Linked DNA regions of Homo sapiens: region 2 is linked to region 1. Evidence: promoter capture Hi-C in 16 types of primary human blood cells and fetal thymus (Javierre and others, 2016). All regions are on one chromosome and are shown on one strand. The core of a region is centred on a gene start or on the middle of the fragment in contact, and the rest is flanking DNA. Distances in the headings are between cores, read along the strand shown. Region 1 holds the start of HSPA4L (heat shock protein family A (Hsp70) member 4 like). Region 2 holds the start of PLK4 (polo like kinase 4).

Region 1 (6,556 bases), core at 1,199-3,698:
ATGGATAAATGTCCTGAGGCCCGGAAGGGCTATGTTTTTCCTCAACAATTGGACCCACAAAGTAATACATAGTGTAAGAGCACTACACTACCATGAAGTACTTTTGTTCAGAAACAACAAAAGATACACTTCTGAGGTAAGTGACAGTGCCCAGCCATGGAGAGAAGAGTTGCTGATGCAAGCTAAGTGAGAATATCCTTTCACTTTTTAAGAACTTTCTAGTTTAGATTAGGCTCATTAAATCTAGATATTACTATTGGCTTTCTAGCACACAAATCAGAAATATCACATTACTTCTCAACCACACAGAACCAGCGAATATGCCTAAGTACAATAACAAAGAGACTTTTAGAAGACTCTAGAAGCCCACTTTTTAAAGAACTAAGTCTGGCCGGCCAGGATCTTTAAAGAATCACAGGTTCACTCACTGCTAAAGAGATTTCTCAGCCTGGAAATGCAGATCGATCTTTCTTACTGTTCTGGTTTCTGATCTTTTAGGATATGGCTTTAAGGACTAAAAGAATGTCCACCCTACCTCTCAGTTTTTTCTCTATAGGTTGAGAGTCAATGAAGCCAAAGATTGCTCCCATTTTTAACCCCTACTCTGCTGAAGGTGGAGAGTGGAATTTCCGGTCTGTTTCTGGCGAAAGCCAGTATTTGTTGTGGCTTAATATAAAACCTTGTAGAGACGAATTCATCGACTTCACAGTTACTGTTTCGGCCTCTCACTGTGCATAAAAGCCAGAAAAAGATGTAAAAAGTAGAAGAGTTCAAACATTATTGAGGATTACCTTATCTATGCCCATGTATTGAAAATATAAACGTCCAAAACGTTTAAAATTTCAATAGAAGAAACGTGTACATCTACGAAAAAAGGTATAAAACCTTCTAGAATCTTCTTGGAAAGAAATCAAAGCACAGACTGCTTCAAGTGAGCTACTCTTCAACATCTTTTTGCCATATTTTAAAGCTTTCCATAGAATAGTAAATGAGGCATTTAAAGACCATTGGACACTGACCTTGTTTTAGTATAGTTAAGGTATTATATTTTGGACCATTCAGAACGGTCAAATTAAGATGCCAAATTACCTTTCCATAAAAAGTAATATAGGTTTCATACAGTTGGTTTCCTCATAAAATTACCAGTAACAGCAGCCTATAAGCAGCAACTAGTTTTTCATATTTCAGAATTACTTCATTATATTCCTTGCCAACAAACTTCCCAGGCCAGAGAAACAACGGAACATGTGGAAACATGTTTCCATGACATAACGCCGCTCCTCCTAAGCCTTTCATTAAGCGTTCATAATAGAATCACTCCACAGTCATGTTTATACGGGACAGCTGCCCCCGACTCCGGCAATTCACTCTGCAGAAACACGCTTTTGGTCCGACCCAACCCCGCCGCATTCCAGCAACTGACGTAGTTACCAATGCACAAGGCCAGTGACTCCCATCCCGAGGCTCTCCCTATCAATGCACCATTGACCTGGCCCTGTAAACCGGCTCCATTACCTGCAGTTCTCAAGGGCACTGGGTTTTGTAAAACCCCACATGCCTCACTCCCCGCCCTTAAAAAAAAAAAAAAGGCTTTCGGGGCCAGATGAACCTGCAATTCATCTCTGACGTGTGCAGCCGAAGCTGACTTTTTACTTTTCTGAGAAAAAGCTGTCACCCAGAGGGACGGGGAAAGGAAGGAGGGCAGCTGGCGCGGGGCCGATAATCCCACGTAAACCTCGTTAGAGGCAACCGGAGATCTTTCTCAATATTCCGGACGCCAGGGGCTGTCCCACAGCAACCTCTTCCTCGCAAGCAAAAGAGGCGTTGGGGGACAGCGGCACGAGGCAGGGGACGTGCGTAGGTACAGAAAAGAGAGCTGCGCAAACTAGTGCGGTCCCTCGTCCTTGAAGGAAAAGAAGCTTTGCGGGGCGAGGAAGTCCGACTGCCACCCGGCGGTCTCTAGGGACTGCGGTTGACGGGTTGCACCTGTCATCTCGGGGTTCGGCGCACGTTAGGGGAAAATCCGAGGAAGCGAGCAGACAGGACAAACGTTAAGGACGGGAGAGAAAAACGTTTCTTAGGGTCGAGGTGATGCTCAGCAGAGGCACTTACGGGGTACACCTGTCGCTGTACTCATTGGCGATGGTCTCGATGCCGCCACTTCTCGCGACAGCAATGTAGCAGTTGAGAAAGCCGAGGTCAATGCCAACCACAGACATCCCGCCGCGTGATGGTCGGGCTGCTGGTACTGAACCCTTCGGTACGGGAACCGTGTCCTCTTCTGGGCTATTGCTGCTGGGATTGCGACTCCTACCAGAAGCAAACGAGAGGGGACCCCAAGTCGCTAAGCAGAAAATCTAGGGCAGGGAGTCGGAAACCCGCGGAAGGAGCAGAGGCCGTCAGCGCCGCAGCCTGCACCGCGTCCCGCAGCCTGGGTCTTTCCCTACTGCGGTTCGGCCGCCTCCAACCGGCGGTTACTGGGACCTGCGCCTGCGCGCTCGGCTGCCCGGGAGGCGCGCGAGCCTCCGCTCCGCGCCCGAGCCAGCTCCGGGCCCGGACTTCGGCCGCTTCCGTCAGCACTCGGGCAACGGCTGCCCAAGAAGCTGCGGGTTCGAGAAAGATCTGGAAAATGGAGGCTGCTGAGCTATCCGGGGGCGGGAGAAGCGGGAAGGCGGGGCGGGGAGGATCGGGGAAAGGAGGCTAGGCACATTGGCTTGCTCGCCCTCGCTCGGCAGTAGGACGTCGGGCGGTCGGGCTAGGTGAGAGGCAGGCGACCGGCCGGCCCGGGGCTTTGCGAACGTGTTTTGAGGCACATTTTTGGGTTGTTTTGGCAACCGGAGGCGTGCTTGTCACGGCGGCAGGATGCTGTCCTGGCTGGCGGGCGCCGCCCCCTCACCCCCTGCCCTCAGAAGGGCTCGCCCGCAGGCCTCGCCTCCCCGAGGGGCCCATGTGCAGCCCGGCGCCCTCCCCTTGTGGCTGGAGGCCCGCCGCGCCCGGCTCTGTGAGGTGGCGCGCATTGTCCGACGTCCGCCGCTCCGCCCTGTCCAGCCCCGGGGGAGCTGCCGAGCCCGGGACAGACTCTTGTGCGAAAGCGGGATGAGCACATGTTAGGTTTTTTTCTTTTTTCATCAGCAGGATTTGAAATATCAAAAGTCAAACTTCTGTCAAGAAATAAGATCACACTGACAACTTTCCCTCCACGTACCTTTCCTCACACCTTTCTAAAAGATGCTGGCCCCGCCGCTGACCCTTGTCTCTGGAAACCAGTTTTACAGGAAAGTGACCTTAATTAAGTGTGCCACTCACACCAGCCAAGTCTGTGCTTTAGCCTCCAGCCGCTGCCCTGTGGTCCTCAAAAAAGAGCCCAGTGTGGTCCAGCGCCCTCCCTCTTGGTTTGATCGGCATGTGTTGCCTGTCTGTAATTAACCAAGTTTTATGTTACACTTAAGAAATTTGGCTGTCTTGTTGCTTTTCGTTCACTTTTACGTGTGTGCCCTGTTCCTTCTCTGCCAGTCCTTGGTCTGTTCCCTGTTCCTCCCCGTCCTCTTCATCTAGTCTCTGTTCCTTCTCATCCAATTCTTTGTGTGTTTTCCTGTTCCATTTTGGTATCCATCTTGAAAACAGGCGTGTTTTTTTGTTTGTTTGTTTTGTTTACTAGATTCTTTAGTATTCTGATTATCCCTAGTTGTCCACTTCTTTAAATAACTTAGATTTTTTACTATTAATAATGTTGCTACAGCAGCAGCAGCAGCAAGGGTGGCTATAGTTCCTGCTGCTGTTAGAATGAACGTGAAATCCATTTTCAAGGGCAATACTGAGGCAACTGGATTGTACAGTATTGCTTGGGCTCTGGTCTCTACATTGAAGAAATCAATCAGGCCTCTCTTCCCTTCATGAGCACTCAGGAGACGTGGAGCCCCTGGGTGAAGCTGCGCTCTGAGACACCGCAGAACTCGGCGTCCCAGCGGGCAGCTCGTGAGCAGAACAGGGATTGGGCGTTGCCCTGCGACTGAACCCTGGGCCCTGGTCCTGCTGGGCGCCTGTGACTTCCACCAGTTCTCCTCACACACCTCTTCTGACATCGGCCATCACTATCTAGATTTATTCCAGAATATCCTGAAATTCTCCTAGTACAATTAATTTATCTTAATTCCATTAGTTTATCCATGTTGTCTATACAACTTGAGGGTGTAAGAATGTTTTTTTTTTTTCCTATTAAAAATACCACTTAAAATATCAAAGTAAAAAGGAAGTTGAGGCCAGGAGCAAAGTGGTGTTATCATCACGTTCCTTACAATTACTGGCAGGACGTGAGAGTACCCAGTGGTTAAAACCATGACGGGCTTTGGGGTCACACAGATTTGGGTTGTAGTACCAGGCTTGCCTAACTTACTACCTGTATAACGTTTGGCAAGTTACTTAATGCTCCAAGCCACAGGTTCAGTCTGTTAAAATGAGGACAAATATGCCTACTGGGCTGTTTTTATGATTAAATAATGTAAGCACTGCATCAGTCCCTGGCACCAAACGGTCAATAAATGCTAGCTATGCTTAGCTGCTGAATGATCCTGATTCATGTACATTGGTCATGTATCCAGCAACCTTGCTGTATTCTAAATTCAAGTATTTGCAGAATTTCTTGGATTTTCTGTGTATAGAACAATATGGCCTGGGAAATAATGAATTTCTTCATTTCTATTTCTTCTGTTTCTTATTGTTTTGCCTGGATTATGTTGCTTAAGTGCTCCAGTAAAATTTTGAAAATAAACAGTAGTGGTAAGCATCCTTGTCTTGTCCCTAACATTAAATACCTTTGTGTTTATGATGTAAGAAAGTTAACAAAATTATCTTCTATTCCTACTTTGCTAAGAGATTTTTCTCATAAAATCCACTCACACGCCTGTAAGTGGATACTGAAACTTAACAAATGTTAACCATCATCTAATGACCTGTTTGTTGCCCTTTAATTTGTTAATACAATGAATAACGTTACTAGAGTTTTCTAACATCCTTGTATCCCTGGGATAAACCAGAAAGGCCATGATGGTTCTGATTGTTTTGGCTTGTGATTATTTTATGAAGGATCTTTACATCTATATTCATAAATGAAACTGGCCTTTTTCTTTCTTTACTCTTTTTATTGGCGTCAAGATTATCGCCTCATAGAGGAAGCCAAAGGGGTTTCCTCTTTTTTGTTCCCTTCTGATAGTTTTGGTAAGAAAAGCCTGTAAACCGGCTGGGCGGGGTGGCTCACGCTTGTAATCCCAGCACTTTGGGGGCCGAGGCGGGCGGATCACCTGAGGTCAGGAGTTTGAGACCAGCCTGACCAACATGGCGAAAACCCATCTCTGCTAAAAATACAAAATTAGCCGGGCGTGGTGGCACATGCCTGTAATTCCAGCTACACAGGAGGCTGAGGCAGGAGAATTGCTTGAACCTCGGAGGCGGAGGTTGTGGTGAGCCGAGATTGCGTCATTGCACTCCAACCTGGGCAACAAGAGAGAAACTCCGTCTCAAAAAAAAAAAAAAAAAAAAAAAGGGCTGTAAACCATCTTAGCCTAGAGTTTATGAGGTTTATGATGAATGATTAAATTTCTTTAGTGGTTATGGTCTATGTTTTCTATTATTCTTGAATCATTATTGGTTATTTGTATTATTAAAAATTTACCATTTCATCTAGGTTTTCAAGTTTGTTGGCACAAAGTTGATTATTCACTTAAAAAAATCTCTTCAGTAGTTATATGTACATCTTTTTCATTCTTAATATTCTTTATTTTAATCTCTTCCTTTTCTTGGTTCCTGTCAGTATGGTTTGTTAAAAGAACCAGCTTTTGGTTTTCTTGCCTGACTTAATTGTCTTTGTTTTCTGTTCCATCTGCTCTTTGTTTCACTATTTTTGTTTATTCCTTTTCTAGTTCATTGATTTTCAGTTTCTTGTTTTCTAATACATACACTTGAAGCTGTAAATTTCCTTCTACGTACCATTTTAGCTATATTCCTACCTGAATTTTCAAAGAATTGAAGTTGGAGAGTAGGCAATGAGGATAAAATGAAACAGGCCAATGGTCACTGGTCTTGTTGTCTAAGGTGTTATCCGAGTTCGTTGTCTCACGACCGAAGGAGCGTGGATGCAAAGGGTGAGATAGGAGCGAAAGTTTAATAAGCAGAAGAAGAAACCTCTGCACAGTGTAGAGGGGAGCCCTAGTGGGTTGCTGTTTTTAGAGTTGAATTCAAAAGCTTTTATAAGAAACTCCCCTCATCTCTGTAGCTGTTTGAGTAGTTTCTCTTATTAGTAGCTGTCTGTGCAACTCCCCTTATCTTATGTAGTTGTGGGTATGTCTCTAGGCAAGCACAAAGTGCCACTTCTCTTGTTTCTGTAACTGCGGGCTTAATTTAGGTAATCCCTCCTTCTCCCTACAGAAGTTCCCATGGAGCCCACCGTGTACATGTCTGAAAAGGGGAGGACACTTTTTCCTGGGAGCCTGCCAATCACATAAAGAACAAAAGGCTTCTGTGCTGGACCCTGCCTGCTTATCTGTGCAGGTGCAGCCTGAGT
Region 2 (6,797 bases), core at 3,090-5,589, 97 kb before region 1:
TAACAGGTTTAAATGTTGACAGACTTTCAAATATAAACTGCTTAAAAGTGAACTTTGAAAATAAAGTATACTTTAAAATAGACTGAAGTCCTTTTATACGTCTTTGTGGTCAACCTACTGTTATCTGTTTTCCCCATGCACCTAGCAGAGTGCTCGGCAGAGAGGGTGCTTGGTAAAAGTTTGACCAATTAATTCTAATATCCTATCTCAATTTAAATAATCTAATAGCACAACTAGCCTAACTATTAAGAAAAAAAAATCCCAATTCAGGCAAATTTTAGAGCAAAACCTCCAGTTCTTTTTCTAAGTGGTTTAGATAAATGATTTTTTTTTTTTAAAGGCAGGGTCTCACTGTCACCTAGGCTGGAGTGCAGTGGCATGATCACAGTTCACTGCAGCCTCAACCTCCCAGGCACAATCTATCCTCCCACCTCAGCCTCCTGAGTAGCTGGGACCACAGGCACATGCCACCACGCTTGGCTAATTTTTTTTTTTGAGATGGGAATTTAGCTCTTGTTGCCTGGGCTGGAGTGCAATGGCGCGATCTCAGCTCACCACAACCTCTGCCTCCCGGGTTCAAGCGATTCTCCTGCTCAGCCTTCAGAGTAGCTGGGATTACAGGTGTGCAGCACCACACCCGGCTAATTTGGTATTTTTAGTAGAGATGGGGTTTCTCCATGTTGGTCAGGCTGGTCTTGAACTACCGACCTCAGGTGATCCACCCGCCTCGGCCTCCCAAAGTGCTGGGATTACAGGCGTGAGCCACCGTGCCCAGCAGCAGCTAATTTTTGTATTTTTGGTAGAGAGGAGGTTTCACCATGTTGCACAGTTGTTTTCAAACTCCTGAGCTCAGGTGATCCACCTGCCTCAGCCTCCCAAAGCGTTGAGATTACAGGTGTGAGCCACCCACCCGGCTGACAAATAATTCTTAATTTGCTTATGTTTATGTTACTCCTATTAGGCTGACTTCTAACAATCAAGAATAATATTTTGTATGTTACAGGGAAATACAAAATTATACACAGTGAACTATAAACAAATTATTTGTTAGTTGATTTCTACTCATTACTCCAAGTATGGATAATTACACCACATACGAGGTCTACTGAACATTAATGAAGATAAAACTTACTTAAGCAAGGTCAAGGCTTTCCTAAAATATTTTTAAGTTCAACGGCTGGACTTGGCACTATTGTCTTCTGCCTATGTAAAGTGTTCCTTACACTATAATCAAAGGAAAGGCTAGTAGACAAGGAGTTTCTGACATCTCTGATACCTCTCTAGTTACTTGCAAAGTACAGGAGAGAAGTTGATTAGTTTATTCTTACCATTTTGATTGCAACTTCCAAACCAGTGTGAATGGACTCAGCTCTGTAGACACCAGCAAATGATCCTTTACCAAGCAGATTTCCAACTTTAAAATCCTTAAAAGTTAAAATTAAAGATTATGTGTGATGACTCACAGTAGAAAGGAAGATGGGAAGGGGCTGGAAAAAGAAGATAAAATGGATCGAGTGGGGAATTTGACAAAATTCAAGCGGGTATTACACCTCGATGCAGCAGGTGTCTAGGGTGGAAGGCATGTTGACTCCGTGCGGGGATACCTGCGCTTCCAGGCTGGACTGGAAGCTCAGGGTGATGGTGCACCCTAGTGATCTGGTTCCTCAACCTCAGTGCAGCCTAAGCGCCCTCCTCCCATCTCCAGCCAATCCCCGGGAGCGGAGGGCTCGGTCAGAATCCCGCCGCAGCTCCCGCCGGAGATAACCGCCATCCCCTTGGAGAAGTGGGAGGTAGCCCTGCCCTGCTCTAACGCGGTAGCTCGGGCGGGATTGCTGAAAGAAAGCCGCAGTGCCTCGGGACACTGCCGGGCGGGGAGGGACTCACCTGTCCCGCCTTCCCTACTCTTGTCTCTTGAGGGGCGGGCCGCTCCGCCCCTAAACAGCAGGGGTCTGGGCCGTTGGGACCCTCCCTAAGCACCTCGGTGCCCGCCCCGCAGCCGTTAGCTTCGTTCGCTCCCCTTCCCACAGCGGTCTCGTGTCCTCCCACAATTACTCCCACCCGCCCCGCTGCAGACTGCCGAGTCTTTTCACCTCGATCTTCTCCCCGATGCAGGTCGCCATATTTCCAGGCTCTGGCCTGGGTTCTCCGGATTAGCTTCCTTCACGCAGTCCCTTCGAGGCAGCGCTCCAAGCAGCCAGCCGGCCTTGGCGCCCATCAGGCTCGGCTCTCTAAACCGCCGCTCCAGGCGACGACGCTGAAACCACGGAAAGTTCTCCCTGACACCTTCCGAGGCCTGGGCGGTGCCTCTGGGCTCCCATTTTGAAAATCTCCCGCCGCTTGCCGTCCGAGCTAGGCTGGTGGTGACGTAACGAGATGGATCGCTCCGGATAGGCTGCGCCGGGGCGCGCATGCGCGGCAGACCTTCCTTTGCGGCCGGCCCAGGGTTCTAGACTTCGGGGCCAAGGGCCGGAAGCGCTGCGGAGAGTTTAGTTCGGGCGGGAGGCTGTCTCGGGCCCACTCTCGGAAGAACTTCTGCAAGACGGGTAAAAGAGCAGGCCTTAAAGATGGGACACTTATGGCTGATCGGTTACTTCACGGTCCGAAATACCACTTCTAATTCCGGAAAGGGTTTAAAACTATTTTAAAATGTCAAGCGTTTAAGACTTGACGGAACAGGGCAAAAAACATTACCTTCCTTTAAGGAACACCGTTTACACCACTACCGCTTATTCCGTAGTTTGTTATAACTGTAGTTAATGTGTACGGTACCTTAAGAAAACGAACTCCATTCTTTATTTTGGCAAACTCCTAAGTATTTAATATTATAATGTCATTTGTATAATAATTTACAGTTAGATCTCTCATACACATAATTTGTATGGATCAAAAGAGACCTCTGTAAGTTTGGGATGGTGTTTTGCAGGTGAGAAAAGTGTGATGCTTAAGGAAGGATATTTAACAAACAGAAGTAGCGCACAAACTTAGATCTTCTGTTATTAAGTGAAAGCTCTTTTCCTTGATGTTAGTGTGTATTTCTTTTTCTTTTTCTTTTTTCTTTTGAGATGGAGTCTCGCTCTGTCGCCCAGGCTGGAGTGCAGTGACTCGATCTCGGCTCACTGCAGCCTCCATCTCCTGGGTTCCAGCGATTCTCCTTCCTCAGTCTCCCGGGTAGCTGGGATTTACAGGTACGCGCCACCACGACTGGCTAATTTTTGTATTTTTAGTAGAGACGGGGTTTCACCATGTTGGCCAGGCTGGTCTCGAACTCCTGACCTCAGGTGATCCGCCTGCGTCGGCTTCCCAAAGTGCTAGGAATACAGGCGTGAGCCTCCATGCCCGGCCCATTTTTTTTTTTAAACTTTTTAGTTTCAAATAATTTTAAGCTTACAGAAAAGTTGTAAAAATAATAGAGAACTCCTGTTGTCCTTTACTCAGATTAACCAATTCTTAACATTTTGCCACACTTGTTTTTACTATTCTTCATGTGTAATATACATGTATAAATATATAAATAAGCCTATTATTTGTATTTTATGAATCATTCTAAAATAGGTTACATACACTATGCTCTTATACCCCTTATTTCTAAAGTGTGAATTTCTTAAGAACCAGGGTATCCTCTTGTATGTTTATCAAATTAAGGATATTTAGCATTGATACAATATTTATATTTAATCTAATCTACAGTTCATATTCCGATTTGTCAATTGTTCCAGTAATGTCTTTATTTAACATTTTTTCCTTCCAGTATAGATCTAGTACAGGATCACATACCGTATTTAGTTACCATATCTTTTTAATTTCCTTTAATATGGAAGAGTTCCTCAGCATTTGTATTTTTGTGACATTGAGATTTTTGAAGAGTGCAGGCCAATTATTTATCATTCGTTCATTTGTTCATTCCAGTATTACTGAGGTATAGTTGACAAAAATTGTATTTATTCAAGTTGTACAGCATGATGATTTCATATACATTGTGAAATGATTACAACAATCAAATTAACACATTGTCACCACTCTTAGGAGTGTGTGTGTGTGTGTGTGTGTGTGTTAAGGGCCAGTTATTTTACAGAATCTTCCCTACTTTGGGTTTGTCTCGTGTTTCCTCATGATTAGATTCAGGTTATGTATTCCTGATTGTAATATTACATACATGAGGTTATATTCTTTCCAAGAGACCACATTTGGAGGCACGTGATATTGTTTGTCTCTCATTAGTGATGTTAATTTGATCCCAGTTTCTCCACTGTATAAATTGCTGGTTTTCTACTTGCAACTAATAAGCAATCTATGGGGGAGACACTTGAATTTCCTGCAAATATTCTGCTCCTCAGCAAACCCCTCTCTCACAATTTAGCAGTATTATTGATTTTTCCTAAACTAGTCTTTACTATGATAGTTACAAAATGATAATTGTTCTCTTTCCATATGTATTAGAAACAATTTTGCCAAAAAGATGAGCCCCGCCTGGTGTGGTGGCTCAAGTCTGTGATCCCAGCACTTTGGGAAGTTGAGGCAAGCAGATCGCTTGAGCCCAGGAGTTCCAGATCAGCCTGGGCAAAATAGTGGAAACACAGTCTCTACAAAAAATACAAAAATTAGCCAGGGGAGGTGACTTGCACCTGTGGTCCCAGCCACTCAGGAAGCTGAGGTGGAAAGATCACTTGAGCCTGGGTGGCAAAGGCTGCAGTGTGCCAGGTTCATGCCACTGCACCACAGCCTGGGCGACAGAGCGATACCCTGTCTCCAAACAAACAAACAAACAAAAAACAACCAGAAGAGCCCTACATTTTGCCCTGTTTAATGATATACAGATGGTCCCCAACTTATTATTATGATGGTACAATTTATGATATTTTGTCTTTACAATGTATTTATAAGGCTATTAAATGCATTTTTTGACTTAGGATATTTTTGACTCATGATGAATTTATTGGGATGTAGCCCCCTCATAATTCAAGGAACATCTGTGTTTTCAGTATGAATTTAGGGATTCCCAGATTATTGAATCAGTTATAATCCATTTCCTCAAAGGATTATAATCCATTACCATCTTATTTTGGTGTTCAAAGTGTCTGAGATTTGTTTAGTGAGAGCTCCTTTCAACCTAGCTGTTTTGATAGGACATATATATATAAAAGCAGTTCTTTACTTTCTGGTACAACAAGATGTTCTAATTTTATTTTGGGCTTTCTCTCACCCAGCACTGAAAGGAGCCATTTCTGCAAAGTGTCCTGACACCTTACAGTAGAAAATGGTGCTTAAAAAACAATATCTGGGAGCTTAGCAAGCTTATTGCGACTTAGGTGTCATTGCATCTATGCCTTTTCAGCAGATGAAACTAAAGAAAAAAATATTAGTAATCATGAGTTCAAGCTGATATCACCAATTCTAATCTAATTTCACATAGTTGTTCCTACTACCTTAAATTTCTATTTAATCACTGTTACCATATATACATAATTTTAAAAATCAAATTGTTTTATAACAAATATTAATAACAAGCATACAAACTCTGCATTTCTGCTTCCCAGATGCAACCCTCTTCAATTCATTTAACTGTTCATTTTTATATATTCTACCGTATTTCTAAATAACATGCTTATTTTCTTTTTTGATTTTTTTCAGTTATAGATTTAGCTCTATTAACTTTCTATTGTGGAAGATGAGGAACTATTTCTTTAGTTGCTTTTACTTTCACCCCTTTTCTTTTTCTTTTTTTGACACAGCGACTTGCTCTGTCACCCAGGCTGGAGTGCAATGGCACGATCTCAGCTCACTGCAACCTCTGTCTCCCAGGTTCAAGTGATTCTCCTGCCTCAGCCTCCTGAGTAGCTGGGATTACAGGCACACGCCACCACACCTAGCTAATTTTTGTATTTTTAGTAGAGACGGGATTTCACCATGTTGGCCAGGCTGGTCTCGAACTCCTGACCTCAGGTGATCCATCTGCCTCAGCCTCCCAAAGTGCTGGGATTACAGGTGCGAGGCACCATGCCCGGCCACTTTCATCCCTTTGTGTCCTCAGTTCTTGTGACCTCATTCTCTAAATGTAATTACCTCATAAGTTTTTGTTTTTTCTTTGAGACTGAGTTTCGCCCTTTGCCCAGGCTGGGGTGCAATGGTGCGATCTCAGCTCACTGCAACCTCTGCCTTCCAGGTTCAAGCGATTCTCCTGCCTCAGCCTCCTGAGTAGCTGGGATTACAGGCATGTACCACCAAGCCTGGCTAATTTTTGTGTATTTTTAATAGAGACGGGGTTTCTCCATGTTGGTCAGGCTGGTCTCGAACTCCTGACCTCAGGTGATCTGCCTGCCTCCGCCTCCCAAAGTGCTGGGATTACAGATATGAGCCACCGCGTCCGGCCTAACTTTTTTTTTTTTTGAGACAGAGTCCCCCTCTGTCGCCTAGGCTGGAGTGCAGTGGCACAATCTTGGCTTACTGCAACCTCTGCCTCCTGGGTTCAAGCAATTCTTGTGCCCCAGCCTCCCAAGTAGCTGGTATTATAGATATGTGCCACCATGCTCTGCTAATTTTTGTATTTTTCATAGAGACAGGGTTTTGCCATGTTGGCCAGGCTGGTCTTAAACTCCAGACTTCAAGTGATCCACCTGCCTCAGCCTCCCAAAGTGCTGGGATTGCAGGCATGAGTCACCATGCCTGGCTACCTCGTAACTTTTGTTTCTCAATATTCAGAGTTTACAATGTTATTACAATTAAGTAAATATTACAGCTGAGATACACAAAATCCTTTCCCCTCTTTGTATAACTTTTAGTTACTTCTACGGTTTAAGAAA

The links. The method cuts DNA at HindIII sites, captures the fragments that hold promoters and counts their contacts. A CHiCAGO score of 5 or more calls a contact.
Region 2: a fragment that was not itself captured here is called in contact with the fragment with the promoter of HSPA4L in region 1 in 1 of 17 cell types (megakaryocytes); the score reaches 7.1 in megakaryocytes.

Annotation. Positions count from the first base shown.
Region 1 is chr4:127,778,214-127,784,769 of GRCh38, reverse strand. It overlaps HSPA4L (heat shock protein family A (Hsp70) member 4 like), which reads right to left and starts at 2,448. Exons shown (of 19, transcript NM_014278.4): 1 at 2,113-2,448. The coding sequence starts at 2,219. RefSeq lists enhancers at 47-286, 1,698-1,777, 1,386-2,378, 2,278-2,427 and silencers at 2,568-2,637, 2,918-3,087, 6,464-6,556. The HindIII fragment of the contact is 4,318 bases long and covers 1,922-6,239 here.
Region 2 is chr4:127,876,458-127,883,254 of GRCh38, reverse strand. It overlaps PLK4 (polo like kinase 4), which reads right to left and starts at 2,362. Exons shown (of 16, transcript NM_014264.5): 1 at 2,091-2,362; 2 at 1,329-1,424. The coding sequence starts at 2,120. RefSeq lists an enhancer at 2,039-2,278. The HindIII fragment of the contact is 1,908 bases long and covers 3,386-5,293 here.